Regions from separate parts of the Homo sapiens genome. Here region 1 is linked to region 2. The links are contacts of gene promoters, found by promoter capture Hi-C in blood cells and fetal thymus (Javierre and others, 2016). All regions are on one chromosome and are shown on one strand. The core of a region is centred on a gene start or on the middle of the fragment in contact, and the rest is flanking DNA. Distances in the headings are between cores, read along the strand shown.

What was found. Contacts are between HindIII fragments. The CHiCAGO score rates a contact against its expected background, and 5 or more counts as called.
Region 1: a contact is called between the fragment with the promoter of NONO here and the fragment with the promoter of GCNA in region 2, in 1 of 17 cell types (naive CD4 T cells). The highest score is 5.4, in naive CD4 T cells.

The regions. Positions count from the first base shown.
Region 1 is chrX:71,282,294-71,288,356 of GRCh38, reverse strand. It overlaps NONO (non-POU domain containing octamer binding), which reads right to left and starts at 4,722. Exons shown (of 12, transcript NM_007363.5): 1 at 4,636-4,722; 2 at 3,904-3,960. The HindIII fragment of the contact is 27,969 bases long and covers 1-6,063 here.
Region 2 is chrX:71,574,563-71,581,175 of GRCh38, reverse strand. It overlaps GCNA (germ cell nuclear acidic peptidase), which reads right to left and starts at 2,739. Exons shown (of 13, transcript NM_052957.5): 1 at 2,654-2,739; 2 at 296-356. The coding sequence starts at 354. It overlaps OGT (O-linked N-acetylglucosamine (GlcNAc) transferase), which reads right to left. Exons shown (of 22, transcript NM_181672.3): 22 at 5,284-6,613. RefSeq lists an enhancer at 1,891-2,532. The HindIII fragment of the contact is 6,206 bases long and covers 1-5,488 here.

The sequences.
Region 1 (6,063 bases), core at 3,473-5,972, 290 kb after region 2:
GGTCTAGGCAGGAGGACTGCTTGGGCCCAGTAGTTAGAGACCAGCCTGGGCAACATAGTGAGCCCCACCTCTACAAAAAATATGTATTAAAAAAATTAGACAGGCATGATAGCACACTCATGTAGTCCCAGCTACTTGAGAGGCTGAGGCTGCAGTGAGCTGTGATCACGCCATTGTATTCCAGCCTGGGCAGGGAGAATGAGACCCTGTCTCAAGAAAAAAAAAAAAAAAAAAAAAGATAAAAATAATAAAATGTTAAATTCTATCATTTAAAAATCAACATAAGATTAAAAAGAAAACAAGTGCTCTGTGCTCCCAAACGTTGAAATAAAAAAAAAAAAAAAAAAATGAAGCCAGCATGGTGGCTCAGGCCTGTAATCTCAGCACTTTGGGAGGCTGAGGCAGGAAGATGGCTTGACCCCAGGAGTTTGAGACCAGCCTGGGCAACATAGCAAGACTCGGTCTTTATTTAAAAAAAAAAAAAAAAAAAAGGGTAGGGGGGAGGGGAGGCCAGGTGCAGTGGCTCATGCCTGTAGTCCCAGCTACTTGGGAGGCTGAGGCTGGAGAATCACTTGAACCCACGAAGAGGAGGTTACAGTGAGGCAAATCATAACACTGCACTCCAGCCTAGGCAACAGAATGAGACCCTGTCTCAAAAAAAATAGAGAAAAAAATAGGCTGGGTGCAGTGGTTCATGCCTGTAATCCCAGCACTTTGGGGGACTAAGGCAGGCCAGATCACCTGAGGTCAGGAGTTCGAGACCAGCCTGGCCAACATGGTGAAACCCTGTCTCTACTAAAAATACAAAAAAATTAGCCGGGTGTGGTAGCTTGCACCTGTAGTCCCAGCTACTTGGGAGGCTGAGGCAGGAGAATTGCTTGAACCAAGGAGGACGAGATTGCAGTGAGCAGAGATGCTGCCATTGCACTCCAGCCTAGGCGGCAGAGTGAGACTTGGTCTCAAAAATAAATGAATAGGCCAGGCGTGGTGGCTCACACTGGTAATCCCAGCACTTTGGGAGGCCGAGGAGGGTGGATTGCTTGAGGTCAGGAGTTCAAGACCAGCCTGACCAACATGGTGAAAACCCGTCTCTACCGAAAACACAAAAATTAGCTGGGCATGGTGGTGGGCATCTGTAATCCCAGCTACTCAGGAGGCTGAGGCAGGAGCATCACTTGAACCTGAGAGGCGGAGGTTGCAGTAGGCCAAGACAGTGCCGCTGCACTCCAGCCTGGGCAACAAAGTGAGAGTCTGTCTCAAAAAATAATTATAAACACAGAAAATTATATTTCTCAGATGAAAGAAATGCGACAAAGGCTTGGTAACTATTGATTTTGATGATGAGTATACGGGAATACTTTCAAGTGTATAAAAACATTCCTAATCTGTTTAATGTCACATCCCACCAAAACTGAAAACATTAATGCAATTACCAAATTCTGTATCCAAAAGTTTAGTAAGAAAAAAAGTAACAAGAGCTATCAAGATGTTAATTCATAGTCTTTAATTTGGAAATTCTACTCCTGGAAATTTATCCTAATAATTTTAAAATTAAAAACTACACCCGTGAAAGTGTTCATTGTAATGGCCTTTATGGTAAGAAAACAATAAAAATGACTTAAATTTCCAAAATTAGGGGAATGGTTTTCATGAAAGTACGGTACATCTATACAACAGAATGTTCACAGCCTTAAAAATTATGAAGACCACATAAACACGAGTATGTCTGATATTCTAACGGGGAAAGGTTTTTTCTAATTTTAAAGATGTGAATATAGACAAGGGAACAGAAGGTAGGCAAAAATGAAAACAACTGCATTGCTTTTAGGTTACTGATAATTTTTCAATTCACGATTTCATTCAAAAAATATTCAGTGAATGCCTACCATTTGCTAGGCACTATTCTAGATGGTTACAGTGGATTAGTGAACAAAGCAGATTCTTGCCTACAGAACTTGCTTCTAGTGAGAGACAATATATATAAGTAAATTATATAGTACTTAAGAGGTAAGTGCTATGGGAAAATAAATAAAAATGGGGGAGGAAGGCAAAGTGGATAGGGAGAAGGAGGCAGATGGTAAACCTCACAACATCTGACATTTCAGCCAAGATTTAAATTTTCACATTTATATCATTTAATCAATTTTGTTTCTCATTAATGTTATAAGGTATCAGAAATTACAACTTAAAATTTTATTTAAAAATTTTTAAACAGAAATTACAATCAGATACTTATTACAAAATGTATTATAGAAAATTTAGAAAAACCAAAATAAATAAAAATACAAATATAAAAATCCATAGACCTGCCACTAAAAATAGTCACTGTTAACATGTTGGTATATCCTTCTAGTCATTAATTTATGTATTTGAAATGAGATATGATAAATACTATTTTGTAACCTGTTTTTTCCACTTTATGATGTATCATAAACAGCTTTCATGTCATTAAATCTTTTACGTTAACGGACACAGCATTCAGTTGTCAACCAAGTCCCTATTGTGTTGGACACCTGGGTCGTTTCTAATTTTTCACCATTATAATCAATGCTCATAGCTAAATCTTTGGACATATCCATGATTAAATATTCCTCCCACAATTTTCCATTCTTGCTTATTTAGACATACATTATCATTTCAGTAACTGATAATGCACCCTTGTATATTCAGAGTTTCCTCATTTCTGCTAATGTCAACATAATTGTAATTTTTAATGACTATATAAAGTTCACCAGGATGTACTACTTTACTAAACTACTCCCTACTATAAGACATTTAGGTGGTTGTTTTTGGCTTTTCCTATTATAACGCTGCAGTAAATGTCTTCTGGCTTTCAGCTTTATTTCCATTTAATTATTTCCATAGGATAAATTCTTAAAAATAGAATCTATCCTGTGACTCTTGCCACATAGTGCAACGTCGTTTTCTCAAAAAGTTGTAAGGATTTTAAACGCCATGAGCAGGTGTAGCAGTTTCATGGCAAATGAGATACCTTTAAAAAAAAACAACAAAAAAAGAAAATAGTGTTTTAAAAAATAAGATATAAAAGCAGGAAGTTAAAACATACAAAATCTAAAGTCCACCCTGGAAATAGTTGGGGATGGGGCAAGGTGGGCATCAGAATCAAATCTTTTCCTACTTGGGTTCCAGGTGTTAAACATCTCTCTTCCCCTGGCCCCGGAGAGGCCCAGGATGGAATGCACTAGTGAAGACTATCATAATAAAGCACCTATAACAGTGCCCACCAAGTAGCAAGTACCTTGAGAAGTATTTCTTCCTATCACCTACTTCTGATGACCACCAATATAATTTGGAAATATGTGCAGAACCCTCTTCAGAGTAATAAATTCACTGTCGCCTAAATACTGGGCCTCTGAAAAGAGAACACAGCACGAAGATCAGCAGCAAAGATTACTGTCTACTTGTGTCCCTGAGACTAATAATCCTGATGAAGAATTTTGAGAGAAAACACGTATTGCTGGTTGAGAAAGACTCTAACCACTGGGCATGCTACAGTTAAACAAATGTTTAGGTAGAGGACCAAACACTACATCACACATATCTGAAATCTAAATCTGGTATAAATTTACAAGACTGAGATGGCTGCCTGGATGGCCAGCCTGAAAGCTGTAAAATGAACTAAGGTCCTTCTCTAAGAGTTTCTTAGGACTTTTCATTTAATAACAAGGAAGGTGGACAAGGACACAGTATAAATATAACCAGGGCCCCCCCACTAGAGTTGCCAGATTTAGCAAATAAAATACACAACCCACAATTAAATTTGAAATTTAATTGAAAACTATGCAACATATACTTAAAAATAATTGGTTGTGTAGGTGAAATTCTAATTCAACTGGGTGCCCGGTGTTTTGTCTGGCAACCCTATCCCTTCCTTACACCTACCTCAACTTCGATTGCAGACAGCAAAGTGCCTCCCAGTTCCCTCTAACCTCGACTTCTCTGTTAAAAACACAAAGAAACGTGTCAGGTTATGGTAAGAGTTTCTCAAACTGGAAAATAAAATACTCGATGCGAAATCCATAAATTTAAGTTTCATTTTAAAAAGTGATGCTATATAAATGCGTCAAGGAGCTAGGCGGTTAGGACTTTAGAAAAAGGGCATACAGAAATCTGACTACGAAAGCGGCGGGCTCTGGATATGCAGAGGAACTTTCCAGCTAAGAGTTTTGACAAAGAAATATCGCTTGAGGGGCCCCACTTGCCCATTCTGAATTAATGGCCTCGCGGGGCCGAGAGGAGGAGCGCCCGACAAAGCGCCTCCTCCTCTAACCAACCACGACTTCAGCGATCTCTCATAATAGACCCCACACCGTCGGGCCCAGGGCGGCTCAGAGGCCGGCAACTTACTGACACGGGTAAGATTCGGAGATGAGTTGCACAAAGAAACAGGGCAGGAACGAAAATGGGGAAAGCCCGAAGCGAAGCGAGTTGAGAAAGGTGGCCCCCCGCGGGTGGGCTGAGAAGGCAGTGTGGCGGCAGAGACAAGGCCTCAAGGGGCCTCGGAAGCGCCATCCACCCTCCAAACCTAGCTTCGCCCTAGCCTCTTCCTTCGCTGATTGTTCCAAGAAATCCCACTACCCTCCCAAACAAGAACCAAGACGTCCCAAAACTCACCCTCTACCGACTGGTATCTCCTCGGAGTAACGGCGACGCTACACGGCCTCTCCCGTCCCGAGAAAAGAGCGCGCGACCGCCGGAAACGAGACGACGGAGCTCGGTGCCTGCCAAGGGGTACAAAATGGCGTTCTCGATTGGTTAGCTAAACTGCCAATCAAGGTTTAGCTCCCGAGGCGGAATCATTTTTCCGCCATTTCTTAGATTCTATTGGCTGCCGAATGCCAAAGGCTTGAGTTCGTGTGAACGACAGATGGGGACAAAGAGCGAGGCTTTGTACCTAATGCGCATGTGCAAGCGGCCTGGCGCGTGAGACGGGAAAGGAAAGGGGGAGGGGGAAAAGGAAAGGGAGAGGAGCTGGGGGTGGGGGTCGGAAGGAGAGACCTAAACGAACTGACTGAAAGACTGAAAGACCAAGTGGTGGGAGGGGGAAAGGAGAGGAGAAAAAGGGAGAGGAAAGTGGAAAGAGGGAGAGGAAGGGGAGAAAATGCGCGCGTAGGCGTGCTCGGAGCAGTCCTGCACTGCGCCTGTGCAAGAAGCAAGAGTAACAATGTCATTGTATTCAATGGAATAGATTTGGCCTTTTCCTACTGAAAAAAATGCCCCGCCATGTTTCTTTTTTCACACTTCCTTGTTAGGGCTTGCATCCTGACACCCCATACTTAATCATATTTCTAGATGCTTCTCCTGTTGCTGGGGCTACTCGGGAAACGCAACTGAAATAGTCAACTCTTTGGTCATGGTTACAGACGGGGTGGGGGAGGAGGGGGTGCATCATACCTTAGGCTCTGCGTGATTACACAGAATTGTAACCAGCACCCTCATTTCCATGGTAACCAGAAAACCTAGCAGTCCAAACATCACTATTGTTCCTATGATTTACTGAGAGATTCAACAGGTGTCATCATTGCCATGGATATATTGTAGGCCTCTAGATCAGACTGTATATTCCATAGGAGGCCTATCAGTAACTAACCTTCATTGTTTCAGTAATGCCTAACTCGCCCCGCCCCCGTGGTTAACCAAGGACTACAAGGATCAATTGATAAGTATGTGTTGTTAATTCCCATTAATTAATTCACACTCAGGGTTGCAGGGTATCCCAATGGGCACCACCTTATGTGGGGACACAATGATCTAGACTTGGGCTGTTCAATAGAACTGTGTGCAATGATGGAAAGGTCCTATGTCTGCTGTGTTCAATATGGCAGCTACTAACTATAAGTGGCCATTGAAATATGACTAATGCAACTGAGAACCTGAATTTTTAATTCCGGCTAGGTGCAGTGCTCATGCCTATAATCCCAGTACTTTGAGAGGCCGAGACGGGAGGATCGCTTAAGCCTAGGAGTTCGAGACCAGCCTGGGTAACATGGCGAAACTCCATCTCCGAAAAAAAGCAAAAATTAGCCTGTCGTGGTGGAGTGT
Region 2 (6,613 bases), core at 1,490-3,989:
TTTAATTGCATCAGAATGAAGAACTTTCTAGAAACCACATATATTCAACGATGCACTGTTGCCTCAAATGTCGTCATTTCCTGGCCACTAACAAAGAAATTATATAGCGGATTCAAGAATTTCATAGGAGGCTGGACTCCTAGTTTGTAAAATCCTTCTTTACAATTCTCATTTTATAACAAACCAAGTTATACGCTCTACAGATACTAAAGGAAATAAACATACTTCTCGAGAAAGCTGTTTTGCCAATACGGTAACACTAAACTAAAAGAAAACAGAACTTTCTAAATCTCACCAATCCTCGTCCTCCTCCGGCTCTTGCAAGCGGGGCAGCTCTTTTTTGCACCCATCCATGTCTGTAGTGAAAGACAAAGATACACTTTCTTAAGAAAGCCAGAACTCGGCCGGGCGCAGTGGCTCACGCCTATAATCCCAGCACTTTGGGAGGCCGAGGCGGGCAGATCACAATGTCATGAGATCGAGACCATCCTGGCTAACACGGTGAAACCCTATCTCTATTAAAAATACAAAAAATTAGCCAGGCGTGGTGGCGGGCGCCTGTAGTCCCAGCTACTCGAGAGGCTGAGGCAGGAAAATGGCGTGAACCCGGGAGGCAGAGCTTGCAGTGAGCCGAGATTGTGCCACTGCACTCCAGCCTGGGCCACAGAGCTAGACTCCATCTCAAAAAAGAAAAAGAAAAAGAAAATAAAATAAAAAGAAAAAAAAAAGAAAGCCAGAACTCAAAAGCAGAGACATCTCTACATTTACATTCTGCATTTATCTTTGGGTATCTTCCCCACCTTAAAGCCGAAACTTTGCTCTGCAAAATGAAAAGGATTTAAATTTGTTTTGTTGCAAACTTTTCCCACTCAGGCCTCTACCACCCCAATCTCTTCCCACCCTGCACCCGCCCCCACTTCCCACTCCCTCCACTCCCACCTCAACTTGCCAGTCTTCCACGTATCAGGGCTCGACCGCCCCCACATCCCACTGGCCCTCCACCTCCCTACAACCTTCAGTCCCCCTACTCCTGCCCCAAGGAAGTCTCCCACCTACCGGGTGTCAACCTCTCCCCCTTCCCCTACCTCTTTACTCCCCACTCTGTCAATCTTACCCAGAATAGGCTACCACCGCCCCCTCATCACCTTCTTCCTTCTGTCCAACCTCCACTGCCCCCTTACCTCCCGCCACTCTGGCTTCTCACTGGTCTTATATGAATCCGGCCACCCCCTCCACGCTTCCTATTCCTGCCTCCAGCCTCTAGCCAATCTTCGACCAAACAGGCCTTGACCCCTCCCCAACTCCTTCCTCCTATCAGGTCTGGACCCTACCCCCACCATTCTCACCTCAGTCTTCCACCAATCAGGCCTCAACCCCACCACCCTTCCCCCACACTCGCACCTCCAACCACCTCCAGCCACCTTCAACTGCTCCCAACCGGTTTTCCAAGCAGGCTTCCACTCCCCCACACTTCTATCCAACTTCTGCCCTACCCCACTCCTGTCTCCCACCACCACTCAGTCCTCAGCCAAAGAGACCTCAACCCCCACACACACACCCCTACCCACAACCACTAGCTCCCACCTCCCCCCAATGCTGCAACGGGCACCCCCACTTCTCCCCACAGCCACTGGCACCCCCACCTCCAATGCCACCACCAGCATCCTCACTTCTCCCCACGCCCACCAGCACCACCACGTGCTCCTAGGCCACTTCCACCACCACCAAGTGTTCCTACGCCGCCACCAGAACCCCCCACTTCCCTCAACGCCCCCATTGGCACCCCCACCTTCAATGCGGCCACCGGCGCCTCCACTTCTCCCCACACCGCCAGCGCTACTATGTGCTCCTATGCCACCAACGCCACCAAGTACTCCTAGGCCGCAACTGGCACCCCCACCTCCCCCCACGCTGCCACTGGCATCCCTACTTCTCCCCACCCGCCACTAGGGACACCACCTGTTCCTACACCACCACTGGGGCCCCCACCTCCCCCCAGTGCCGCAACCAGCGCCCTCACTTCTCCCCGCGCCGCCACCGGCGCCACGTATTCCTACATAGCCACTGGCGCCACCACACGCTCCTACGCCACCACCAGCGCTCCCACTTCCCCCAAGGCCGCCAATGGTGCCCCTACTTCTCCCCACACCGTCACTGGTGCTACCACATGCTCCTACACCACCACCAGCACCCCCACTTCCCCGACACTGCCACAGGCACCCCCACTTCCCCCAACGCCGCCACTGGTGCCCCTACTTCTCTCCACCCGCCACTGGCACCAACACCTCCTTCTACGCCACCACCAGGCCCCCCACTATCTGCAATGACGCCACCAGCGCCCCTTCTCCCCACGCCGCCACTGGCACTACCAGCTGCTCCTACGCCGCCACCGGCGCCCCCACCCCTCCCAATGCCGCCACTGGCGCCACCATATGTTTCCTACACCACCATGGGCGCCCCCACCTCCCCCAATGCTACCACTGGCGCCTCCACTTCTCCCCTCGCTGCCACTTCCTCTACTCCCACCTCAGGCCTACACGGGCAACCAGAGTCCAAGGTATACAGTGGTCCTGATTTTAATTAAGTCACTCAATTAGGATTAACCTCTGGACCACTTCAGCACCCATCTCAGTCCGACCAGCCGGTCACCTACCTGGTGTTGCAGCCTCTGGCGTGGCCGGCAGCAGCTCACCTCCAACTGCCCGTGGAGTGTGTGCAAAGATCCGGAGCAACTGCGATGAACAACGCCAGGCGCAGGCCCCTTTATAGTGCCCGGACCTAGGGGGCGGTAGCAGTAATTCACGTGTGCTCGCCCGCGCTCCCCTGTACCCACCTATCACAGTGGTCACAAGACAAATTTGAACTTCGCGCCTGTGAACTTGGCGCCTAGCTGTAACGCTTCCGGGATCAGGTCTGTCGCTTTCCACTCCCACGGATGTTGCTTATTTGTCCCAAAACCGCCATTTCAATACTAGAGCGTGGGCACCCGAGGCCAATTCTGCGATTAAAAGTCCCTAACAACTTTCTGATAAAGAGAAACCATGTGAAATCGTTCATAACAAACTTTTATCCTGCGAGAACTTGGATAAGCGAGCCTTGTTCCTTACTTGAATTGTCCAGACCTCTAAGTCCGTTATTGCAACCACTGGGAAAGGGCGCGGGGGGAGGGGCGGGGGCACGAGAACTGGAGCGAAGGCGCGGGAGCAGGGGCGTGGACGGGAACACCGAGGGGAGGGCGGGGCGCGGGGGGACGCGGGAGCGCAGGGGGGCGGGGGTTGCAGGGAAGGCCATCTAGACCCCTAGATAAGAGCAAGGCAGCAACTCAACAGCGCCTGGCAACGGCGAACTATGATGTTTACTTCCAGAACCCTCCAAACCCTGGAGATAAAAAAAGGTTACTTGAGGCTTTTTGGCACTCACTCCATACACACCAAGAAAAACAAACGGGGAAAACAGCGCTTTCTAGATTGTGCCAGTTTCTCCAGCGAGCATCTATATATTTCGTAATGTATGCCTTTGGGTAACAGAACACACATAAAATGTCCCTGCGTTTGATACTATTTTGTGCTAAGCATTATTCCAAGTGTCTTACGACTTAATTCATACAACACTTTAAAAAGTAGGCAACTGTTAGCACTCTCATTTTAGAGATCACACAGCTAGAAAGTGGCAGAGCTGGCCGGGCACAGTGGCTCACGCCTGTAACCCCAGCACTTTGGGAGGCTGAGGCGGGTGGATCACGAAGTCAGGAGCTTGAGACCAGCCTGGTCAACATGGTGAAACCCCGTCTCTACTAAAGATAAAAAAAAAAAAATAGCCGCGTGTGGTGGCCCGCGCCTGTAATCCCAGCTACTCGGGAGGCTGAGGCAGGAGAATCGCTGGAACCTGGGAGGCGGAGGTTGCAGTGAGCCGAGATCGTGCCATTGCACTCCAGCATGGGGACAGGGCGAGACTCCATCTCAAAAAAAAAAAAAAAAGTGGCAGAGCTGAGATTCAAACTCCAACTCTAGTTCCAAAACCTGCTCTTAAGCACCAGATTGCCTACCTAAATACAGATACTTTCTCAGTTGATAAAAAAATTGGATAAAGGGGGCTGATTACTCTCTCTCTCTACAATGAAGTTGCAAATTAACCTCTACAAGCCTCTTTATAAGAATGGGGATTACATAACTGTGCCTCAGAGGCTTGGGCAAAGAACCAGGATGTTAGCTATAATTGAGAGGCATATGCTTCAAGTAAAAGAATGGGATAGGTTTGGAATCAAATCTTAAAATGGGCAGTTCAGAAATTACACACATTTACTCAAGGTGTGCAAGCAACTCCTTTAGATTGAAGGCAGGAGGAGCTGAAGTAGACTGGAAATAATGTAGATTTTTCAAGAGAAGCGAATGGGAGTAAAAACTTTTGAGTAGGCTTTCTTCCCATAATAATCTTTTAGGAAACAAACACCAATCCACATGAGGGCTTTAAGAAGTTGGGAATTAAATCATGCAAAATTTTACTGAAAAAAATCTTCCCTCTCATATCTGAGAAAACTGGCAAACAGCATTTGCCATGATATCAATTCATGATATCAATCATGAATTGATATCTTCCTCCCTGATGCTTGTGGCAGAGTTCGACCACTATACAGAGCAGGAAGGAAAATAATTTTGCCCCCAAGAGCCAAGAAAAGAATGGTCCACATGAAAACCGAGACTACAAGGGTAAATGAAAGCAGAGAGGTCACAAGCAAAAGAGGAGCAAGCATGAATGGGTGTGTTGGGGATCACAGGCTTTGTCTTTTTTTTTTTTTGAGATGACATCTCACTCTGTTGTCCAGGCTGGAATGCAATGGCACGATCTCAGCTCACTGCAACCTCTGCCTCCCGGGTTCAAGCGATTCTCCTGTCTCAGCCTCGCATGTAGTTGGGATTACAAGCGTGTGCCACCACTCCCGGCTAGTTTTTTTGTATTTTTAGTAGAGACAGGGTTTCACCATGTTAGCCAGGCTGGTCTTGAACTCCTGACCTCAAGTGATCCACCTGCCTCCGCCTCCCAAAGTGCTGGGGTTACAGGCGTGAGCCACCACACAAGGCCACTTTGCCTTCTTAATGGATCATAAACTAACCCCACCCTCTACCAGACCTGGCTGAGAAAACAATTCCTAATATCATAGCTACAGTAGGGAAATTTGGTCCTTTCATGCTGTTTGGAGGTGTTTAAATATAGGTTTCATCATTGGATGACACTATTCTTCAGTCCAACACTCAATATAACAGGATACAAAATACATCAGCCGTATTAAAGGGAAATCATTCATTTATTAAGGATCGCAAGACAACATCTTAATTTCTGTAGTACGATTTAAATGTTTTACTTCTTTGATAAAGCAGAGTACAATAGAAAAAAAACAATTAGTTTCCAGTAATATCTATATCTCTAATCAGAATTAAGTCTTCCAAGACATATTACCTGGAAATAAAAGCCTGTTACAATAAGCAAAGCTTCAACCAGAGCGGCTACTTTTCGTGCCAGGAAAAAGTTCATCCCTATAGGAGGAATGATGTGCTATGTAAAATGGCTGTAAGGTCACAGCCTTGAGGGCATTGGAAGTATATTATCCTATTCCACATTAAGTATTTCAGCGAATTTCAAACATCAGTTTATCTGCAACCATGCTGGCAACCTTTAACTGATATTTCAATCAACCGGTAAAAAATAAATTAAGAAATCCCTTCACGGATATTCCGTGATTTACACTGTTAAAAGGTACACTGTTCATTAACATGTAATTCTGGTTCAGAATTACCTTTGAGACTCCTTGCTCAAAATTTGGTTAACAGTAAGAATCTTCCAGAAATTCAAGTTCTTATTAATCAATAATTTGTCAGCTAGGATACATTCAGGCATCAGCTGCAACTACAGAATAGGTGCACAGCCTCAGCGCTTTGGAAAGACATAATCTAGAACACTACTAGCAGACAAAAAATTACCTGCAACTGGATAGCGTAAGTGCAGTATAGCGAGACAAAACATATATTCATATGTTGGCTTGTTTAAGCCTCAAACCCTCGACCCTTTGTTGAGATCCCATAATTTTATTCCTATGATTTTAATAACTCAAGTTCCAGGAGGACTATAAGTCTAATTTGTACTCCAAACCAAACAGCAGTGCAGTTCGCTACTACTGAGGCTGAATCTGTACAGACTTCAAGACCAAGTCCAGAAGACAGTTATTATCTAAAAAATAATTACTTGAATACATAGATGATCCTTCAGAGATTTTACCTATAACCTATTTCTTGATGAAGGTTATTTAATGCACTGGAGATAACTGTGACTTACTGATCAAATACTTGAATACTTATACTTACCTGGGATTTCATTTCTGCTGAAAGAAATAGGAAGAACAGGACTCACTTAAAAAAAAAAAAAAAAAACTTTAGAAAGGAAGGTAAAAATCTTACACACACTATCACTTTTGGAAGCAGCATAGAAGGGGCAGTCAAGGGTAAAACACTGGTGAAACAGGTCAAAATTAGGAAAAAAAAAAAAACTATATTATTATCAATGACAGTACCACAACTGTGCCCTTGATAATTAGTAATCACTCCTAAAAATCTTCATTTGG